7 separate regions of the Homo sapiens genome follow, and regions 1, 2, 3, 5, 6 and 7 are each linked to region 4. The links are contacts of gene promoters, found by promoter capture Hi-C in blood cells and fetal thymus (Javierre and others, 2016). All regions are on one chromosome and are shown on one strand. The core of a region is centred on a gene start or on the middle of the fragment in contact, and the rest is flanking DNA. Distances in the headings are between cores, read along the strand shown. Region 1 overlaps TMEM38B (transmembrane protein 38B). Region 2 holds the start of SLC44A1 (solute carrier family 44 member 1). Region 3 has its middle 6.3 kb from the start of TMEM38B. Region 4 holds the start of RNF20 (ring finger protein 20). Region 5 overlaps FKTN-AS1 (FKTN antisense RNA 1). Region 6 has its middle 43 kb from the start of FSD1L. Region 7 overlaps TSTD2 (thiosulfate sulfurtransferase like domain containing 2).

Region 1 (2,826 bases), core at 166-2,665, 4.2 Mb after region 4:
AAATTCGTTATCCTTAAGAGGATTGATCCATCAAGTTTAAAATAATCTATAATAAAAATTATAGTTTTTTTAATGTATAAAGCAGAAACTGTTTTCTGTTAAGAACCATATCATTAAATATATAACAGGAACACTTACAGTTCATTTTTATTGTGATAATTTTAAAATGAATATGTAACCAGTTCTAAAAGGGATATTACAAATAATAGTAGCAATGGGAAAAAGTAATCCTGGGAACCTATGGCAATGTTGAGTTGTTACGATATGTCAGTTAAGTTCTTTATATTCATTGTTATATTTAATCAGAGGAGTACTATAAGGTAGCTATTATTATTTCCATTTGACAAATGATAAAATTGAGGCATAGGGAAATGCTGCTATAACTTTCTTGTCTAGTAAGTGGTTGAGCTAGAATCAAAACAAGAAGTTTTTAACTTTAGAGTCTTCACACTTTGTAGCCACTATCTCTCACAGATTTGTTTAACCATCTCTTAAAGTGTAGTCTTCCAGTTGCTATGTGTTTTAAAAAACTTTCCCAAAGACTTTTATTTCTATAACAATATTTTTAAAAGTTATTAGCATTTTGGAAGAATTTTTTGATGTGTATAGATGCTGAAACTATACAAAAAGGAAGATATCCAGAATTTGATACTTTCTGTTATTTCTACTTCTGTTCCTATAATACTAACCTCCTGGATGATTGCAGGAGCTTCCTAAGTGGTCTTGCTGCTTCTTTGATTATCCCTTTGAGTCTATTCGTTATTCTTCATGGAGCAGACAAAATTATTACAGTTGGCCTTCTATACCCATGGGTTTTGCATGCTTGAATTCAACCAGCTGCAGATCAAAAATATTTGGAAAAAAATCCAATAAAAAATAACAATGCAACAATAAAAATAATGCAAATAACAATAATGTGTAACAACTATTTGTATAGTATTTACACTGTATTAGGTATTATAAATAATCTAGAGATGATTTAAAGTGTAGTGGAGGATGTGTGTAGGTTATGTACAAATCCTCTGCTATTTTATATAGGGGCTCTCACATTCACAGATTTTGAAGGAGAATCCTGAAACCAGTCCCCTACAGATACTGAGGGACAACTTAAGTTAGAACATGTCACTCATGTGCTCAGTAATTTCTTATCTTATTAAGAACAATATCCCAAACTTTTACCATGGCCTGTAAAACCCTGCAAAATACTCGCTTTCACTTTCTTTTATGTAACGTCTTACAACTCTATTCTTGCTCAGTTTGCTCTAGTCACATGAGCTTTGCTATTTCTTGAATGTTCCAACGTAAGGTATTCTTCTACCTCAATGCCTTTGTACTTTCTTTCTTCTCTTTGTAATCTTTTTTTCCTCAGAAGTCTCATATTTTGTTTTATCAGAGAGGCCTTCCCTGACTAAAGTAGCACCTCCTCTCCCATGACTATCACATCATCCTTCTTTATTTTTCTTCTTAGAATTATTGCTATCCAACATGTTATCTGTTGATTTTTTTTTTTATGTTGCTCTAACTATACTGGAATAATAGCCCATCAGAGAGTGAGCCATCATGCCTGGCCCCTGGCTAATGTTTAAAATTTTTATATTTGTTGAGATGAGGTCTCACTATGTTTCCCACGTTGGCTATTTTTTTTTTTTTTACTGTCAAAGTTATTTATTCACTATACATAGAACATGTCCCCTATAAAATGTACATGTAAATCACTAAAAAGTAAAATTTGGTGAACATTTTCTCAATTACAGAACATACTACATCAGTTGGGATAATAGCTGTCTACCTTAAAATAATCTAATTATAGCACCCAGTCTCGTTTATATCTAATGCAAAGTTAAATACTTATTTTGGGGGTTATTTCCTAGTATGTGTTTGGTGAGGCTGAGTAAACAATTTAATATAACTCCAGTATATTACAGTCACTGCACAATAAATCAGTTTATTACAGATTAAAACAAATCATTTTTTAATTATTTGTAATAATGGGATCAGACAAACACGGGATAATTTTAAATGGCATATAACCACACAATTACTTATCTTTGATAGTATATTGGGTTCTATAATTATATTAAGATATGAATGGTGTAAAATATTGTAACGAATAATACATCTCAAACAAGACAATTAGGCCATACTGTAATCATTCACTAGATTGTACCCAGTAGACATTTACTGAATAAGGGAATTATCTACTTTTCTCCTCAATTAACCAGTACAATGTTTTGCCCACAGTGTCAGCACTCAATAAATATTTGCTGAACATACTGACTAGGATAGAGGTGAGAAGAGATGGGCCCTCTTAGCTGGATGTCGAATATAATTGGAATTTACCTGGGAAGGAGAGTAGTTAAGGAAGATGTAAACTGCATGTGGTGTACAAGTAAATAAACGCAGATGCCAACAAAGCCAATGATTAAGCAGAAAACACTGACACCAAAATAAACAAAGGCAAGATTTGCCAATAATGGCGAAAATGGAACTTTTATATTGGACCATAACTTTTCCCACCTAAATCAGTTTGAGGCAGACCAACAGAGGCACTGTAAGAGACTACGGCTGTCTTCCTTGATATTCAGACATCCTAGTTTCCAATAATTTATTATGGACCTATTACCCATGAATCAATATACGCTTATTCATATTTAGGGATTAGTTTCCGCAAGTACAAAGTTGAATGTCCTTTTATTTGTCCTAAAATGCTTACTTTCAAACTTGAGGGGACTTCAATTATTCCATGTAGTTTTCGATAACATTCTTTTATCTTTTCAGACCAGAGTCAAAATATTTGTACAGTATTCATACTGCAGCACCTTCCAC
Region 2 (2,700 bases), core at 136-2,635, 3.7 Mb after region 4:
TCCACAGTCACGAACTCAGGAAATGGCATAGGAAAACATCAATTAGGAATTCTTCTTCCCTGGCCCTTTCTGTAGCTGTCCCCTTACAGGCTACCATTCCAACTTTCCTTGGCTTAGATTCCCTTTCAGTGCATGTAAAGTCAATTTAATTCTGTGTTCTTTTCTTCCCTCTATACTTTAACTAATCTTTAAAACTTGATGTCTCATATTTGGTGAATCAGTCCTTTTGGAAGTCTCACTCCCTTGCAGCTTTGCAAATAAAGTTTTTCTTTTCTTTCCTGTGGCTGTCTTTTGAGACATTCTTTGACAAGATGAAATGACATATGAAGGCTATAACAGTGCCTGATAATGTGGGGTTTTTTTTAACATCATTATCTTTAGTTTTATTTCTTTCACTTTTTAACTGTTTTCACCTCATACTGTATTTCCTAACGACTCGTTTGGAATTGTAAATTTCTTGAAGGTAGTTACCACGTCTACTCTAACTTGTTGCTACTTCCTTGAGTCTTACTGATTTAGCAACAGGAACTTGGTAAGTCTCTTTTGCTCGCCTCTTTATTCCCAGTACTAGTCACTGGAACGTAGTGTGTCTTCAGTAAGTATTTTTAATATGAATAAATTAATGTCCCCTTATTGTTTTTTGTAGACTATCCTGTATAAGAAAGTTTAGCTTAGATCCAGTATGGCTTTGACTTGCGAGCCTGGATAACTTTTTGCCTTTTCCTCATTTCTGGCTATTTATTACCATTTCAACCTTGGGAACATTTCATTAGGTTCTTGGTCCCTTTCAAGCCTCAGTTTCCACATCAGCAAAATGGGGACAGTAGCAACAGATGCTTGTTTCTTCCCGTCTTCTTATCACCTATTCCTTCTCCAGGAAAGGTTTCTTGTGTACGCTTTCCTCTGGAGAAAAAAAACAGCCGACGGGGCGGTAAGAAGCCATCAGGATCCTGAGTTGTGCGTCCAGTAGGGAGAGGGAGAAGTCCCGCTTGCCTCCTAGATCCGGAAGCAATCCGGCCCCTTTTTGGCAGCGAGTTGGCCCGGTCTTTGGCTGCCTCAGACCGCGTTGCCCTCCAGCCTCGAGGCAGAGAGCTGCCTCGGTGCCACAGCTAAATAAGCCCGGCGCCGCGCAGCCTCTGACACGCGCGGAAGGGCCCGGCCTTGTTCTGGCTGCCGCCGCCCTGCCACCAGCACGGCGCTGCACTGGGGGCGGGGAGTCTGATGGGAGACGCGCGCGGCGCTGAGGAGGCGGCGGCCCGGGAGAGGGAGCGGGAGAGGGACTGGGCGCGGGAGGCGGGAGGCGGGGGGACAGAGGGAGGCGCCGCCGCCGCCGCCGCCCGCCCCTTTCCGCTGGGGAGCAGCTGCTGCAGCAGGAGCAGAGCAGGAGACGCGTAGCCGCCGTCGCCGCCGCCGGGGGATGTGGCCGGCGCCTGCCTCTAGCCGCGCCGCCTCTTGAGTACCAGCCGCCGCTGCAGCCGCCGCCGCCGCCTAGCCGTGCGGTGCCAGGCCGCGCCCTCCCCGGGCGCCCGCCGGCTCGCATGCCGAGGGGCTCCGGGGCGTAGCTGCGCGCCCGGCGCCGCCTCCGGGCTCCTTCGGCCCCGCCATGGGCTGCTGCAGCTCCGCCTCCTCCGCCGCGCAGGTGAGGGGCTCCCGCCTCCCGGCCGCCCGCCCGGATGCCTCCCGTGCGCCGCGTCGCGCGGCGGGCGCCCGCCGCCCGATACCTCTCGCTGTCCCCAGCCTCCCCTGAGCGCACCGTGCAGTCCAAAGACCCCCACTCCGCCTTTCCGTCCGCCGGGTCCCGCCGATGCCCGTGCGCTGGCTCCGCGGCTGCCGACTCAAAGGCGCCTCTGCGCGGCGCCTAGTGCGCCCTCAGCTCTTCCCGGCCCCTTCCCCAGTCGGCCCCCTCCTCCCAGTCACACCTGAGCTGCCCGTCCCGCCCGCCTGCAGGTAGAGGCTGCACTGGCGCCTCCTCTGCCCCAGGTGGCATCCCCTTCCCTGTTCTTCCGGGCCTGGCTCCTCTCTTCCACCTCCGTGGAGTCTCCCCGCCATCCGCCGCCCGTTTTCTGTGCTCCTCGCAGGTGTACCCCCAGCAAGAGCTCTTCACCTCTCCCACCGAATTCCAGTTTCTGCTTCATTAGATATTCTGTCCCTTTTCTCTTGCCCGCTGCCCCCTGGCTGGGTTCAGATGGTTTCAGCGGGTCCCGGAGCCCTTCCACGGCCCGCTCCGCAGACCTCGCTTGCTCGCTTGCACCCCATCCCCCCTTAGTGCCGTGACCCGGGCCCCGCGGCCTCCCCGCACTCGGAGGCCCCTGCGGGAGCGCCGACTCTGGGCTGGGAAGGAGATTGGGCACCTGGTGGGTGACGGGAGCGCTACGGAAACTCCCTCTTTGTTGCCAGTGTAACAGGAGGAAGAGGTTCCGAATTTAGTTTTTCTGTGGGCACTGGCTGAATGTTGTCGCTGAGGGCTGAGATGCAGAGATTTCTCTCAGCTTCTACCCTGCCCCCATCCAAATTTCGCCAACCTCCTTCTCTCGGATCCGAGCCCTTAACCTGGGTGGAAATGTTTAGACAACTGTACGAGGATCAAATGTAATAGAACTCGACTACTGGCCACTAATAACTGAGAGGACCTGTTTGTAAATTACCTAATTTAGTGGATTAGCGAGTGTATTTACAAATACTATAAAAAGCAATCAGGAA
Region 3 (2,798 bases), core at 215-2,714, 4.2 Mb after region 4:
TCCCTCTCTGTGTCTACGGACCCTCCTGACCATGCATGCTCTGGTATTTGGACACATTTATAAATCCCTAGGTACGATTCTTTTTATTTGCCCATATATCAAGTACATGTGTTCTCACTGCTAGTGTTTCGGTTTGATCAACCCATCTATACAGATAACCGACACTTTGTGGGTTCCCAGCCACAGCCATGTGCATTTTCTTTCAAACCTCACCCATCCATCTTATTCTTTTTTGTGACAGGGTCTTGCTCTGCTGCCCAGGCTGGTGTGCTGTGGTACGATCATATCTTACTGTAGCCTCAAACTCCTGGGCTCAAGTGATCCTTCCACCTAAGCCTCCCGAGTAGCTGGGACCAGGTGCACCTCACCACTCCTGGCTATTTTTTAAACATTTTGTAGAGATGGGGTCTCACTATGTTGCCCAGGCTGGTCTCAAACTTCTAGCCTCAAGAAATCCTCCCACCTTGGCCTCCCAAAGTGCTGGGATTGTAAGTATCAACTACCACACCTGGCGTCATCCACCCCATTTTCTAATCTCCTTCCTTTGCCTGTCATCTAGTATAACAAGATGCTAATTTATCGTGAAATTCCATTAGATCCCCTAAGACAAAAGATGCTACTTCTACATTCTGAAAAGACAATTAAGCCCTGTCTATGCAGGACTTAATAAAATATAACAGCTGGCCTAGTGAACTTCACTTTCAACAATCCAAGAGGTCAAGAATTTGAAGGGAAATTCATGGAAGGGAATTCAGAGGGCTAGAGGCTTTGCCTTCCTACTCCTCTCCCTGTGAAGAAAGAGGTGCTAACTTCCCCCAAGCCAATTCAGACTCTATTTAAGCAGATAAGAAATTATTTTTTCACGTAACAGGAAGTCTGAGAAGGACAGTTGATAACTTCAATGATCTGCTATTTTCTCTCATGGTCACAACATGGCTGCCCTAGCTCTAGGCAGAAAGACAAGGAGAAGGGCCAATGTCAAGGGCATAGTCCCTTTTATCAGAGAAGCCACATATTTTCATTGATCTATTTTTCTATTTTTTCACCAATATCGTACGTCTTGATTATCACCGTAGCTTTATAGTAAATCTTGAGGCTGGACAGTGTCAGTCCTTCAACTTTGTTTTTCCTTACTTTGTTTTCAGAAGCATGTCAACCTAGGTCCCCTGAAGTTTTATTTGCCAGTATCCTAACACAAGTTCACACCTTGCTGAGAGGCTGAACAAACTATATCTAATGTTTTAACCGGATACACAGAGTTGAATATGTGTGCTGGGTTATTCAACCAGTGGTGTCTGCCTTAACTGTAGAGGTTAGGAGATCTTGCTGTGTGAGCTCCATGGCATCATTGGGGAACCCACAAATAAACCCCATGAATGAGTCTGCATTGACAGCCTGCCATAGAGAAGAATATCAATAGCCAAAAGCAAACCAAGACAAAGAAACCAAAAAACAAAAACTATGACCAACATTTGCCAACTAGAAAGTCTTCTGTTCCTTTTCTCTAATTTCCCTCCTCACTGCCCTAACCCTAGAAGACATAGCAGATGAAAGGAGCAGAAGATGAAGAAAGGCTGGAGGACTCCACCATGCCCATTGCCCCATCAAAGTCTCTGAGACAGGCAGTCCTGAGCAAATGGGAGGAAAGAAGTTCTATATTGCATGTAAGATGGATGTTTTAACTGGACTGGACTTTTTATTTTATTTAAAAAATATCTTAAGTTAGCTGGGAATGGCAGCAGGCACCTATAATACCAGCTATTTGGGAGGCTGAGGCAAGAGAATCACTTGAACCTGGGAGGTGGAGGTTGCAGTGAGCCAAGATCCTACCACTGTACTCCAGCCAGGGCAATAGAGCGATACTCTGTCTTAAAAAAAAGAAAAAGAAAAAGAAAAAGAAATCTTAAATGACAACAAAGCAATGGGATCTGCTGAGATAATGTCAAAGAATGGGATGGGGTTACTAATGATTACTAATTGGTCTTCCTGGCCCTTATCTGGTGGGTGGCCTTTTCATTGCTGTAGGGATGCTGAATCTCTCTGTAAAGGAAAACTTCAAAAGAAGTATTTGGGTTCTGTTAGACAGGAGAAAACCTAGTAGGAGTACATAGGGAAGACTGATTGTAACAGAATAGTAACAAATTTTGGTCTGTCACTGCCCATGGTGACCTCTCTAGCACTTAGTTTCCTACTTTAAAATAAATGGGTTGGCCGAGCGCTGTGGCTCACGCCTGTAATCCTAGTGCTTTGGGAGGCTGAGGCAGGCAGATCACTTGAGGTCAGGAGTTGGAGACCAGCCTGGACAACATGGTGAAACCCCATCTCTACTAAAAATACAAAAATTAGCCGGGCGTGATGGCAGGTGCCTGTAATCCCAGCTGCTCAGGAGGATGGAATCGCTTGAACCTGGGAGGCAGAGGTTACAGTGAGCTGAGATCGCGCCACTGCACTTCAGCCTGGGCAACAGAGCAAGACTCACCCTCAAAAAAAGAAAAATAAATAAATTAAAAAATAAATAAAATAAAATAAACAGGTTAAAGAAAATGATTATACTAGACATCTCTTGGGATGTCTGCCTAGCTCCCTCCTTTCTCTTTATTTTTTTTGAGACAGTGTCTCACTATGTTGCTCAGGGTGGTCTCAAACTCCTGGGCTCAAGCGATCCTCCTGCCTTGGCCTCTCAAAGTCCTGGGAGTACAGGTGTGAACCACTGCACCCAGCCGCTCCTTCCTTTTTCAGGAAATTGCCTCTGATATGTAGGGATGCATCAGATCTGAACCACGTGACCCGGCCTCCCA
Region 4 (2,879 bases), core at 349-2,848:
GTAAGACTCTGTCTCGAAAAAAAGAAAAAAAAAAAAAAAGAAGAAGCCACTACTTTGCTCTAAGCAATGTGACCATGCAAAAATATAACCCTTCTGTTGCAAGATCATCAACATTTTTTAGAGAAACTGATAATTTGGATTTTTATGTAAAATAGCCATATTTTAAATGTTGGCAACTAAGTTCATTTTTGTTCTTGTTTTTAACCACGCAGGACAGCCAATACTGTCTAAAATAAACAAAGCATAACTGTTGGCTAAATGCAGTCTGTGAACCTCTAGTTTTCTGGGCTAGAAAAACCATTACTTGCCATTCAGTAGTTCTATGAATGAAAGGCTTGCTAAGAGTAGAGGAACCAAAGAAGATGAGAGAATGAGTGTCATTGTCTCATACAATGCTTTTCGGCAGGTGTGTCCCCACTCACATGTTCTCAGGCTCCCACTTCACGGAATGAAATGTGAAGTCCACTTGGGGCCAGTTAATTCTTTCCAAGATAGTCAAGGTGTTCCACTGCCAGGCACCAGGAACACTTGTTTCCCTGGTGTTGACCATCTTACTTCATTTACAGGTAAGCCCTAGCAGGTACAGGGACAAAAGTCTTCACACTAACAGAAATCCAGTGTAGATTAGCTTCTTTTTTTCCCAAGATGCCTAAATTCTATTTTTTAAAAAAGATATAGCGATCATTCTTCCATTTCTAGACCCTTAGCTGACGTCATTAGGTAGTTTATCATAGTTCTGCGAGACATACAGCTTTTCATTAATAGGTTAGATTAATTACCGTCCTATCATTAAAACGCATTTAGTTTAACTGAATGGAAAATAGCAGTTTGTCATAAACTTAAAAAAAAAAATCAATGCTTAATTAGCTTAAAATAGACTAGTACTGAGATCAGAGACTGATTGGCGTTTATCTTTTCCCTGGACAATTTCTTGTTCCCAAAAAAGCACAAGGGCAGTAGTTGTCACTCCTGCTTACGCATTAGAATCTAGTGGATGGAAATGCGGGGTTTGGGGGGAGGAGATGAGGGGAACGCTTTTTTAAAAAAGCTTTTGTCCAGGCCAAGTGATTCTAATGTGTAGACAGGGCAGAATACCGCTCCCTGTGCGGGGGAAAAAATCCCCAACATCTGAAATTCCTCAAATCCCTCAGATTCTCTCCAGAACTCTTCATTTCAGCACGTAGGGGTACCAACGAACAATTTTCTGAGGTGTCTGAGGCTAGTCATGTCCCCGGAGATTGACGGGACCGTCAGCCAATCGGCCGTCTGAACGAGTGATGGCAACCCCAATGACAAGCAACAGAATGAGGAACTTTATCCCCGCAGAAAGACCAGATCGCAGTAGCAAAGGTCAACAAGTCAACAAAAGCCAAGGGCTCTCCGTCAGGCATCAGCGAGGCCCGAGTACTCTTAGAGGTCGTAGCCAGGAGAGGGTCCCGCGCTTGCCCAGCGTTGCTAGGGAGGCGGCGCTTGCTCAAGCTTCTCGTGCCCTCTCCGTACGTCACTTCCGCCCGGCGGGGTCTCATAGTCCTATGGGCTGGGTTGAAGCCACTTCCTTTTTTCTTTCCCTTTTTCCTCTCCGTGGCCCCGCCTCCCGGAAGTTCTGCCTTGTCTCCGCCGCGGGTCAGGGGTGAGAGCTGGAATCTCTGCACGGGCCTTGGTGAGTAACTGCTGCGAGTTCTGTTCCCGCGCGGCGCCAGTTCAAAGAACTTAGGTTAGATCACGCTTAGGGCCCAACAGGACTGTGCCAGGCCTCAGGAGTCTCCACCCTCTCCAGTTTTGGGGCCGTCAGTCTCCTGGGCCTGCAATTATCCACGCTGAGGCTGAGGTCTTTGGCTTTTAGCGAGTTGGATTGCAGCCTTGTTCTGCTTCTGTGTCTTCTCTCTCCAGGCGAGGTCCTACTGAGGTTGTTGCCAGCGATAGTCCTCTCCTGGAGCTTGAATTGGAAGCAGAGTAGTCTTGTTAGTCTCGGTGATGGCTGCGTTGTTTCCTGAAGTAGCCAAAGTGCTTTAGCATCCATTCCGCCTCCTTTGAGCACCCTGGGAGGTAGGCAGGGCAGACGAAAAATATATTCGTTAATATTGTGCAGTTGAGGAAACTGAAGCTCTTGGCGAATTCACTGTTTCAAAGCAACACGGCCTCTAACAGGCAGAACTGAAATTCGCACCCAGGTCTAACTAACGTAGGGTTGCATAAAACAGTGGAGAGAGCGTTTGGAAATAGGGAAAACACTGCAAACGTTAAAGAAGAGCTGGGGTTTCTGAGTGCTTACTTTGTGTTCGGCTTTGTGCCAAATTCTTTCTATAATTATATCATCCATTTTATTTTATAATAAGCATAGGAAGTATATACTGTGGTTATTTATTCCTGGGTTAGGAAACTGAGGCTTAGAGATGATAACTGACTTGTCTAGTACTAATGACTTTAGTAGGCATTTCACAGATCTCTTTCAGCTCTGTGATTCTTTCAACACTGTAGTATTAACTTCTGGCATAATCAAACTGCCCTTTTCTGATTTTGGCATTACAGGAAGAGAGATTCCAGAACTTTATTTTTGGTCTCTTCACCCTTTGCCCATTGTCTCATTTCTTATCACCATTCTTATCACCATCCTATTTAGAAATTTATAGTCATGTAAATTTAGCCTTGACTTTCTTTTTTTTTTTTTTTTGAGACGGAGTCCCGCTCTGTTGCCCAGGCTGGAGTGCTGTGGTGCGATCTCGGCTCACTGCAAGCTCCGCCTCCCGGGTTCAAGTGATTCTCCTGCCTTAGCCTCCCGAGTAGCTGGGACTACCGGCGCCCGCCACCACGCCTGGCTAATTTTTTGTATTTTTAGTAGAGACGGGGTTTCACCGTGTTAGGCAGGATGGTCTCGATCT
Region 5 (2,700 bases), core at 190-2,689, 4.0 Mb after region 4:
ACACCCTGTGCTAGTTCCCTTATTGGTGCCTGCAGCTTTTTTCCCAGGCTGCTTTTTATATTATCTGGGGATAAGGCACTGACTCATGAGCCAGGGGCTCTCCAGGACCCTTCTCTTGTTACCTACCTAAGGTAAGCTAACTAACCGGATCCCCACACTCTTGCTGTGCCTCTCTTCATGGGATGAAAAATTGAGGAGCCAAGGGACTATGCCTACTTGGAATCCATGTTCCTTTACCCACAGAATTCTATACTATGTTATCAGCCAGAACCCCAGGATTCCTTGCCTCATCAGCCTGAAGCTTGCTTCCAGGATATGTGCAGGCCTTTTGTCCAAATCCATCCTGAAAAAAGACTACTACAGATGTATATACCCCTATGGCTGGCAGTTTGTGGGAAGTACAGATGAAGCTTGGATGTGCAGACTGAGTTGTCCACATGCATGCATGATAGGCCCCTGTGGCAGGCTTAAGCTAGAAGTAAAAAGAGACCCAGGGGATCAGGGAAGGGCAGGCCAACCTAGTATCACTTTCTAGTACACTTCTGAAGAATCTGCGAATCGCATATTTGAACCTAGATTTCTGTTCCTTGAGAATACATGTTAAAGTAGAAGAGTATAACATTTTATTTGTTGGTTAACGCTCAGCTATTTAGACACTGAAAATATGTCAGGGTTGGCTTTCATTTGTATTCTTGGCCCAGACCCTACAAATGTTAGGAGTCGGCCAGGATCCTTACATGTGTGCACAGCTGAGTGGTTTATAGAACATGAATATTTACTTGTAAGAGAGGCTGTTTTTATGCATCCTTGTACCCACTCTTTCAGCTGTATTTGCTATCCAGATTAAAGCATACTGACTTGACGTTTGCCATGAGCTGAGGGCTCACATTTGACCTTTCAGTATGCTTGATAAGTAACACTGCCACCAGTTTAGTTGTATATTTACCTTCAGTTATGTTTGTTCCCAAACCTGCTTATGTAGGTGGTAGTCACTGTTGTAGTCATGTAAGTATGTAAACCAATTATATAAATATATAAACCAAAATAAATATGAAATGAGTATGAAAAGGTACTTATAAGAAAAGTACGAGAACCATTAGAGATGAAGAGTTTAAAAAGTTGCAAAGTTAGTTGTGGCCAAAGTAATTGTGAGTGATAGGGGAAGATTTTTAAAAATAAATTCCAGGACTCCAAATTTATATTCCTTCACTTGTATCTTTAAGTTCCTGGTCCATTTTACAGAAACAGAAACTACAAATGATGGATGATGCATTATGTCTATGGTTTTGTAAGAAAAACAGTGAGATACTCTAATCAGCTGGTCCATGCTTAAAATGAACTTAGTTCAAAACAGAAGATTGGCCATTGTAACCCTCTACTGAAACTGCCTTTTTGAGAAGGTTTATTCAGAACTAGATTTGTTATACACTTGGAAAGTATTTATTTCTAAGAACCTGATAATTTTTCCCTTTTCCTGTTACTTTTAATTATAATTTCCAAATATACAGAAAAGTAGAAAGCCAGTGCTTTGTGCTCATCACCTAATCAATTGTTAACATTTTGCCATGTTTGTGCTATCTATTTTGTTTTAAAATGTCACCTGTAAGTATGCTATATGCATCCATGATGGCTTTTAAAAACAGCCACATTCTGTTAACATTCTTAGCAAAATTAACAGTAATTCTGTACTATTATCTAATGGATCAGTCCATACTAAAATTTCAGTTGTCTCAGAAGTATCTTTTTACAGTTATCTTGTTCAAATCAAGATCTAGACAGGGTCCACACATTGTACTCCGTTACATCTCTTAAATATTTGATTTTACAATAGTTCCCTCTGCTTTTAAATGCCATTTATGAAAAAAACTGAGGAATTTGTCTGGTAGAATGTCCCGTTTTCTGAATTTAGTTGCTTCTCTATATCCTGTATTAGATCTAGAGTTTGAGTAAATGCAGGTTCAATTTTTAGGCAAGAATCCTTCACAGGTGTGGCTGTGTACTTTCTATCACATCAGGAAGTACATAATATATGCTTGTCCCAAATTTAGTGAGATTAAGATCAGTGGGTTTAGGTGATGCCAGTCTATTATAAAGTTCCCCATCAACCTTTCACCTTAATTTTATCATCTATTGATGTTGCCCTTTCGATTATTTTATTAGGAGTTACAAAATCGTGATTGTTTTATCATCCTCCATTTATTAGCTGGAACTCTTATAAGTACTTTGGTTACACTAAAATTCAATTCATACAAGAAAGGCAGGATAAATGCTTGATGTTTTCCCTTATCAAGTTTTAGAATATTTAATCTTCAACTTGGCAATCTTCAATCACGACTGAATTTTATTTTTTAAGGAGTCATTATAAACTCAAGAATTTTTATATTTGATGTGTTTCAATCAATAGCAAGTATGTGATGCTCAAGTTTTCCCATGTCCCATCACGTTAGCACCTGTGTTAATGATGCCATTAAGCTTTGATAACTTACTTCCTCTTGGTGTAACCTTCCACTTTTTTTTATTAACCTACTGAGTACCTACCCGTTCTGAGTGCATTGGATGAGAGGACTTCAACAGTAAGCTTGTATGTGCATAGGAAATTTCTGGAAGGAAAAACAAAAAGTTGGTAAATGTCATAACCTGTAGGAAGTGAGGAAGATTTTTTCTTCCTTTTCTTTCTGTACTGATAGAATTAAAAACAAA
Region 6 (2,819 bases), core at 53-2,552, 3.9 Mb after region 4:
TTTCAGGGGAAAAATTACCCTGACAACAGTGGGGAGTATGGCATGGGGTGAGTTGCTTCTGGGCCAGGAAAACAAAGTGAAGAGACCATTGTAAATATACCATGTGATTCAGAATGAGAATTCCAACTAGGGCACTAGCAATAAGAATGGAGAGAAAAGGCAGGAGAATCGCTTGAACCTGGGAGGCGGAGGTTGCAGTGAGCTAAGATTGTGCCACTGCACTCCAGCCTGGGTGACAGAGCAGGACTCATCTCAAAAAAAAAAAAAAAAAAAAAAGAATGGAGAGAAAGGGATATATTTAAAAGCTAATGGAGGGATAGAATCATCAAAAACGGATGATTGGTTGGTGTAAGGGGCCAAGTGAAAGAAAGACAGGAGTGAAGCGTGAATCTCCAGGTCCTGGTTTGCATGCAATGCTGCATTGGAAAATAATTTACTTTTCACCTGGAAAGAACCACTTTAAGATGAAGCCGTATTTACTTTCATAAAGAGACAAGATAAAATAACAGAAAAAGCACTGATGTAGGATTTGGAGTATTTGAATTTATTGCCAGTGCCTCCAGTCCAGTCATGGGTTGTTTGTCCTCTCTGCCTATTTTCTTGACTATAAAATGTTATATGCTCAGCCTGTGCTGTAGGACTACGATGATAAATAAATGAACTTAGGGGATAGGAATATGCTTCGAAAGCAGTTAAATACAACAGAGTTGTTATCTCCTTATTTTCTGATGCCTAAAGGAGACAGCATCGTATAAGGAAGAGAACAAAGGTTTGGCACTATGGATATAGATTTGAATCTGTCTCTGCCTCTTGCTGTAGAAGCTGGGTAACCTGCGAAAGCCACAAAAGCTTTTTGAGGCTCAGGATCTTCCTTTGTAAAATGGGAATAGTCATGTTTTATAGGGATTGTGTAAGACAATGATAATTTTTTCATTTCACTCATTCATTAGCTAACAGATATTTAATGAGTACCTACTACGTGTTAGAAGCCAAGAATATAAAAGTGAACAGAACAAGCTAGAGTCTCCACGCTAGTTTTATGTATAAAAGCTAATGGTGGCTAGGCGCGGTGGCTCACATCTGTAATCCTAGGACTTTGGGAGGCCAAGGCGGGTGGATCACTTGAGGTGAGGAGTTTGAAACCAGCCTGGGCAACATGGTGAAACTACATCTCTACTAAAAATACAAAAAATTAGCTGGGTGTGATGGCGGGCACCTGCAATCCCAGCTACTCGGGAGGCTGAGGCAGGAGAATCTCTTGAATCGGGGAGGCGGAGGTTGCAGTGAGCCGAGAATGTGCCACTGCACTCCAGCCTGGGCGACAGAGCAAGACTCCATTTAAAAAAAAAAAAAAAGCTAATGGTGGGATGATATGATTGAAATGGCAGAGCAGGAAATTCCAAAACTCCATCATTCCACAAAAACGATGATCAAATTGACAAAAACTGTCCAATCAATTTTTACCAAATTCTAGAATCTAATAAAGAACTTACACACCTAGGCAAATGCTAAATAAAGACATTTCAGTAAGAGCATTGAGGCATGTTAACTTATCTGCATACCATCTCCACTCACCAGCTTAGCAGCATCTGTGAAAGTGGTGGCTCATGTTTCTGATGTGGCTTGCCAATGCCCAAGTAAGCAATGTGTGGTTAGACCTTGTTCTCAAAAAAAAAATTGTGGTTGTGTGTTTTGAATTGTCTGGTGGCTCCCTGAATGATCAACTCAGGGGTTTATCTTTGTGTCACATGCCTCAGAAGCTTCTTAGGGTTGAAGTGATCTCCCAAGTGACATTTGTCAATGGCACTTAAAGGCTTATATACTAGCTGCAGCAACCTGTGGTGAAGAATAACAGATGCGGCAAACGGCAGACAGATGGAAGCCTGGGAAAGAAGAGGCTAGAAAAGGACATACACGGAGGAATAACAGCTTTCAAAAGCTCCTGCATATACTAGGAAATGTCCAAGGCCACACACATGCCCAGGGCTTGACACAGGAAGGACCTGAGAAGACCACAAACGTTCGCTTCTGGCTAACCTTTCGATGCAAGCAGGAAGTAAAGGCTAGAGCAGAGTTGTAAACAGTCTTGCTAAGGGTTAAGCAGTGCCCCCATAAAGAATGAATGTGCAAAGACTGGAAGGTGATCTCTTTTTTTTTGTGGCTCCAGGTATTTAAGGAAAACTCTGTCAAATCACTAGCTGACCATAAACTAACAAAACAGAGACTTCAGTGGCCACACACACACACACCAAAGAATACAGTCTCTACAATACATAGTTCAGAAAAGTCATTAAACAAATAAACAACGATAACCCACAATAAGCCAGCAACTACAAACCCTAGGGAGGAGGAAGAATCTGATTTCCAGAGTTGCCACATTATAATATGCAAAATGTCCAGTTTTCAACAACAAGAAATTACAAGGTACACAAAGAAATAAGAAAGTACAGCCTATTAACAGTAGAAATTAACAGAAACTGGCCAGACGTGGTGGCTCACACCTATAATCTCAATACCTTGGGAGGCTGAGGCAGGAGGATTGCTTGAGGCCAGGAGTTCAAGACCAGCCTGGGCAACATAGTGAGACCCCATGTCTACCAAAAAATAGAAAAAGTAGCCGAACATGGTGGCGTGCATCTGTAGTCCCACCTACTCAGGAGGCTGAGGTGGGAGGCTTCCTTGAGCCCACGAGTTCAAGGCCGCAGTGAGCTGAGATTGAGCCACTGCACTCCAGCCCGGGTGACAGAGCAAGACTTCATCTCTTTAAAAAAAATTTTTTTAAAAAGAAACTGTCTTTGAAGAAGCCCAGATATTTGACT
Region 7 (2,700 bases), core at 111-2,610, 3.9 Mb before region 4:
TGAAGTAAACAAGTGGATAAATTGATTTTTTATTTTTAAAGTCAGATGGTGTAAAGGTTATGAAGAATAATCAGCAGGGTAGGGAGGCAGTGATGGAGAAGCCCTTCGAACACAGAGAGTAGGAAAAGCCTTTCTGCAGCAATAGCATTTGAGCAGAAACCTGAATTAGGGAGCGAGCCATGCAGTCATTAGGGTAAATAATACCAGAAAAGCAACAGGTACAACCCAAATCAATCAAGATGTGTGCCAGCACCTTCAGTTATAAACACTTTCTTCTTTTTGCCCCTTAATTTCAGAGCTATGAAAATTTCCTTCCTTAGAAGAAATAGTTCCCAAGACAGCCCCACTGTAATATGCCAGAAGAAATGTCAAAATCGCTACTGTGGCCAAATCTTGTCAAAATGGACACACTACAACCATCATACCATGTTGGTTCTTTTGTAAAGCAAAGGTGACAGGTGACAAGCACTAAGAGGCACACTGAGAAAAAGTATGGGCTTTGGTTTGTGCTGCAGCAGTTTGCCAAGCATGTGAACATGGGCAAGCTACTTAAGGTTTCTGAGTTCTAAATCTCTCTTGTGGAAATTGTGCATTGTAGTATCTACATTACAGTACTGTACTGTAGACTGGAAAGAAATATTAATATATAGTGTCTGGCACAAACTAGGGTTCAATGAATGGTAATATTATTAATATTTTAATTGAATGCTGTATTTTAAATTTAACATTAAAATTTTATTTAAAAATTAGCTGTGACAGATTATATTTTCCAAAAATGGCTGCAGCAGTATTTCTGGTCCATTTCCCTAAGCCTAGGCAGGCTTGTTAACTACTCCCAAAAATAAAGCGTGATGGAAGCAATGCTGTATGACTGAGGTTGGGTTCTCAAAAGGATACGCTAGTGCAAGCTCTCATTCTGAGATGCTCACGCTGAGGAGACCAAACCACTGTATTGTGAGTAAGCCAATCCAACCCATGCAGAGACCACACACAGAGAACCAGGTGGAGAGGAACAGAGGCCTCCAGCTGACAGCCAGCATCAACCACTAGACCCTTCAGATTCCAGATTGGCCTCTGAGCTGAGAGCAGAGACAAGGTGTCCCTGTTGTGCCCTGTCCAAATTCCTGCCCCACAACATAACAACTGGTTATTTCATATTACTAGTGAACTGGCAAAGTTAGTTTCTTCAGGACAATATTGAAGGAGGCAGCCAGAGGTGGACACTGAAGGTTCTGAAAATAGTAACATGCAAAGTAGTCCCAAACTCCACAAGAGGGAGCAGAAAAAGCACCACTAAGAATGAGAGAAAGGAAGGTGGGAGACACTGGTGACAAACTTTGCCAATTCACAACTCTGCCTACAGGGTACCTCAACCAGGTGAAGGCAACAAGGAGCAGTTTATGTGTGGGGGAACACACACTGCTTGTTAACAATGCTGGATAGGACTGATGGAGACTAAACATACACAGACACACACAGGCAATACCAACTTTCTTATAAAGGACCTTTGTTCCTTGGATTCATAAATTAAGATGTCACTTGCACCACATAAAATGCATTTGAATCAGCTAAGTGGTGCTTTCATGGGGCTCAAAATGAGCTTTGTTATAAGGGTAAGGCAAGGTAATACAGATTTATTAAACCTAAATTCTCTTGTATTTGAAAAATAAGTGGAAGAGACTGGGTGAAGAAATACTACCTTCTTTAGCTTCTCTTTCCTTTCTCATGAAAATGTCTTTCATATAAAGTCCCACTGAAAAAAGTACATCCCTAACTCTACACAAACCTGTAAGCCTTCCAGGCAGAAGTAAAATAAGTAGAAGAATCTTATTCAACACACTTCCTCCATGCTCAAAGCTGTTTTATTGTAAAGGTAGAGAAAGTACATATATCATTTCCAAATTAAAATTCATTCAACAAATATTTATGGAGGGTCTTCTAGGTTCCAGGCATTGTTCTAGAAACAGATAACTTATTTACCTATAAGGGCAGTACATTTGGGAGGTAACATTGTCGAAAGGAATTACTATCCAATCCGGTCCCACCTCCAGCATCTTTTCCAATCTCCCTCTATATGACCTGATGTAGTCTGTCCCAGCATTTATGCTTTCCACTGCTTTGTTTCCCTTACTTTTTCACTTCTTTCCCTCCCCATATGCTTACTATGTATATGAAGACTGAACTCAAGTGTCACCTTTCACTTATGTCTTGTCTGCTACCCTGTGTCACTGCTTCCTTTGAAGGCCTGAAAAACTTAGTTTCCCTATACTCTAGGCTCATCTCTGACTATGCTCCCCATTCCCCATCAGATATCCTACTCTAGCCACACTGGACCATGCCCAGTTCCACAAATGAGCCATGTTCTTTCCTGACTCAAGGTCTCTGCACCTGAGTGTGGGGTGCCTTTCCCACCACCCCAAAATGATCTCCTCCGACTCTGCATCTTTTTTCAGTCTCAGCTTATTTTGATTTATGTACATACTCTGAATTATTATTATTTGTGGCACCTCTGCTATGTGCCGGGCCCATGGAATAGTCCTGGGAATGCAGCTATGAATGAAACAGTTGAAGTACCTGCTCTCTTGGAGCTTATATTCTGGTAAGGAGAGACATTAAGTAAGTAATAAACAAACAAACAAACAAACAAACAAATCATGAAAATACCAGCTAGGGATAACGGCCCCTGCTTCTCAGTTTCCT

Evidence for each region. The method cuts DNA at HindIII sites, captures the fragments that hold promoters and counts their contacts. A CHiCAGO score of 5 or more calls a contact.
Region 1: a fragment that was not itself captured here is called in contact with the fragment with the promoter of RNF20 in region 4 in 5 of 17 cell types (non-activated CD4 T cells, total CD4 T cells, total B cells and 2 more); the score reaches 8.2 in non-activated CD4 T cells.
Region 2: the fragment with the promoter of SLC44A1 here is called in contact with the fragment with the promoter of RNF20 in region 4 in 8 of 17 cell types (activated CD4 T cells, total CD8 T cells, total B cells and 5 more); the score reaches 15.6 in activated CD4 T cells.
Region 3: a fragment that was not itself captured here is called in contact with the fragment with the promoter of RNF20 in region 4 in 6 of 17 cell types (total CD4 T cells, naive CD8 T cells, total CD8 T cells and 3 more); the score reaches 14.3 in total CD4 T cells.
Region 5: a contact is called between a fragment that was not itself captured here and the fragment with the promoter of RNF20 in region 4, in 7 of 17 cell types (naive CD8 T cells, total CD8 T cells, activated CD4 T cells and 4 more). The highest score is 13.3, in naive CD8 T cells.
Region 6: a fragment that was not itself captured here is called in contact with the fragment with the promoter of RNF20 in region 4 in 1 of 17 cell types (total CD8 T cells); the score reaches 5.0 in total CD8 T cells.
Region 7: a contact is called between a fragment that was not itself captured here and the fragment with the promoter of RNF20 in region 4, in 2 of 17 cell types (fetal thymus and neutrophils). The highest score is 6.5, in fetal thymus.

What each region holds. Positions count from the first base shown.
Region 1 is chr9:105,707,356-105,710,181 of GRCh38, forward strand. All of the region lies in intron 2 of TMEM38B (transmembrane protein 38B), which reads left to right. It overlaps LOC107987107 (a long non-coding RNA gene), which reads right to left. Exons shown (of 4, transcript XR_001746868.2): 2 at 690-837; 3 at 1-46. It also overlaps the pseudogene LOC100421293. Among named protein-coding and RNA genes, the nearest start is that of TMEM38B, 14 kb to the left of the region's middle. The HindIII fragment of the contact is 7,200 bases long and covers 1-2,826 here.
Region 2 is chr9:105,243,266-105,245,965 of GRCh38, forward strand. It overlaps SLC44A1 (solute carrier family 44 member 1), which reads left to right and starts at 1,386. Exons shown (of 16, transcript NM_080546.5): 1 at 1,386-1,639. The coding sequence starts at 1,604. LOC112268038 (a long non-coding RNA gene) reads right to left here and starts at 2,328. Exons shown (of 3, transcript XR_002956866.2): 1 at 1,754-2,328. RefSeq lists enhancers at 1,028-1,932, 1,933-2,700 and silencers at 1,159-1,758, 1,769-1,908, 2,249-2,328. The HindIII fragment of the contact is 7,272 bases long and covers 1-2,700 here.
Region 3 is chr9:105,686,799-105,689,596 of GRCh38, forward strand. No RefSeq gene overlaps it. Among named protein-coding and RNA genes, the nearest start is that of TMEM38B, 6.3 kb to the right of the region's middle. The HindIII fragment of the contact is 8,166 bases long and covers 1-2,798 here.
Region 4 is chr9:101,532,255-101,535,133 of GRCh38, forward strand. RNF20 (ring finger protein 20) reads left to right here and starts at 1,599. Exons shown (of 20, transcript NM_019592.7): 1 at 1,599-1,660. It also overlaps a transcript of PGAP4 not described here. RefSeq lists an enhancer at 1,341-1,470. The HindIII fragment of the contact is 1,893 bases long and covers 1,478-2,879 here.
Region 5 is chr9:105,554,576-105,557,275 of GRCh38, forward strand. FKTN-AS1 (FKTN antisense RNA 1) reads right to left here. Exons shown (of 3, transcript NR_184141.1): 2 at 2,539-2,600. Among named protein-coding and RNA genes, the nearest start is that of FKTN, 2.2 kb to the right of the region's middle. The HindIII fragment of the contact is 2,062 bases long and covers 409-2,470 here.
Region 6 is chr9:105,403,980-105,406,798 of GRCh38, forward strand. It overlaps a transcript of SLC44A1 not described here. Among named protein-coding and RNA genes, the nearest start is that of FSD1L, 43 kb to the right of the region's middle. RefSeq lists a silencer at 1,495-1,695. The HindIII fragment of the contact is 911 bases long and covers 848-1,758 here.
Region 7 is chr9:97,627,858-97,630,557 of GRCh38, forward strand. All of the region lies in intron 1 of TSTD2 (thiosulfate sulfurtransferase like domain containing 2), which reads right to left. Among named protein-coding and RNA genes, the nearest start is that of TSTD2, 4.2 kb to the right of the region's middle. The HindIII fragment of the contact is 6,117 bases long and covers 1-2,700 here.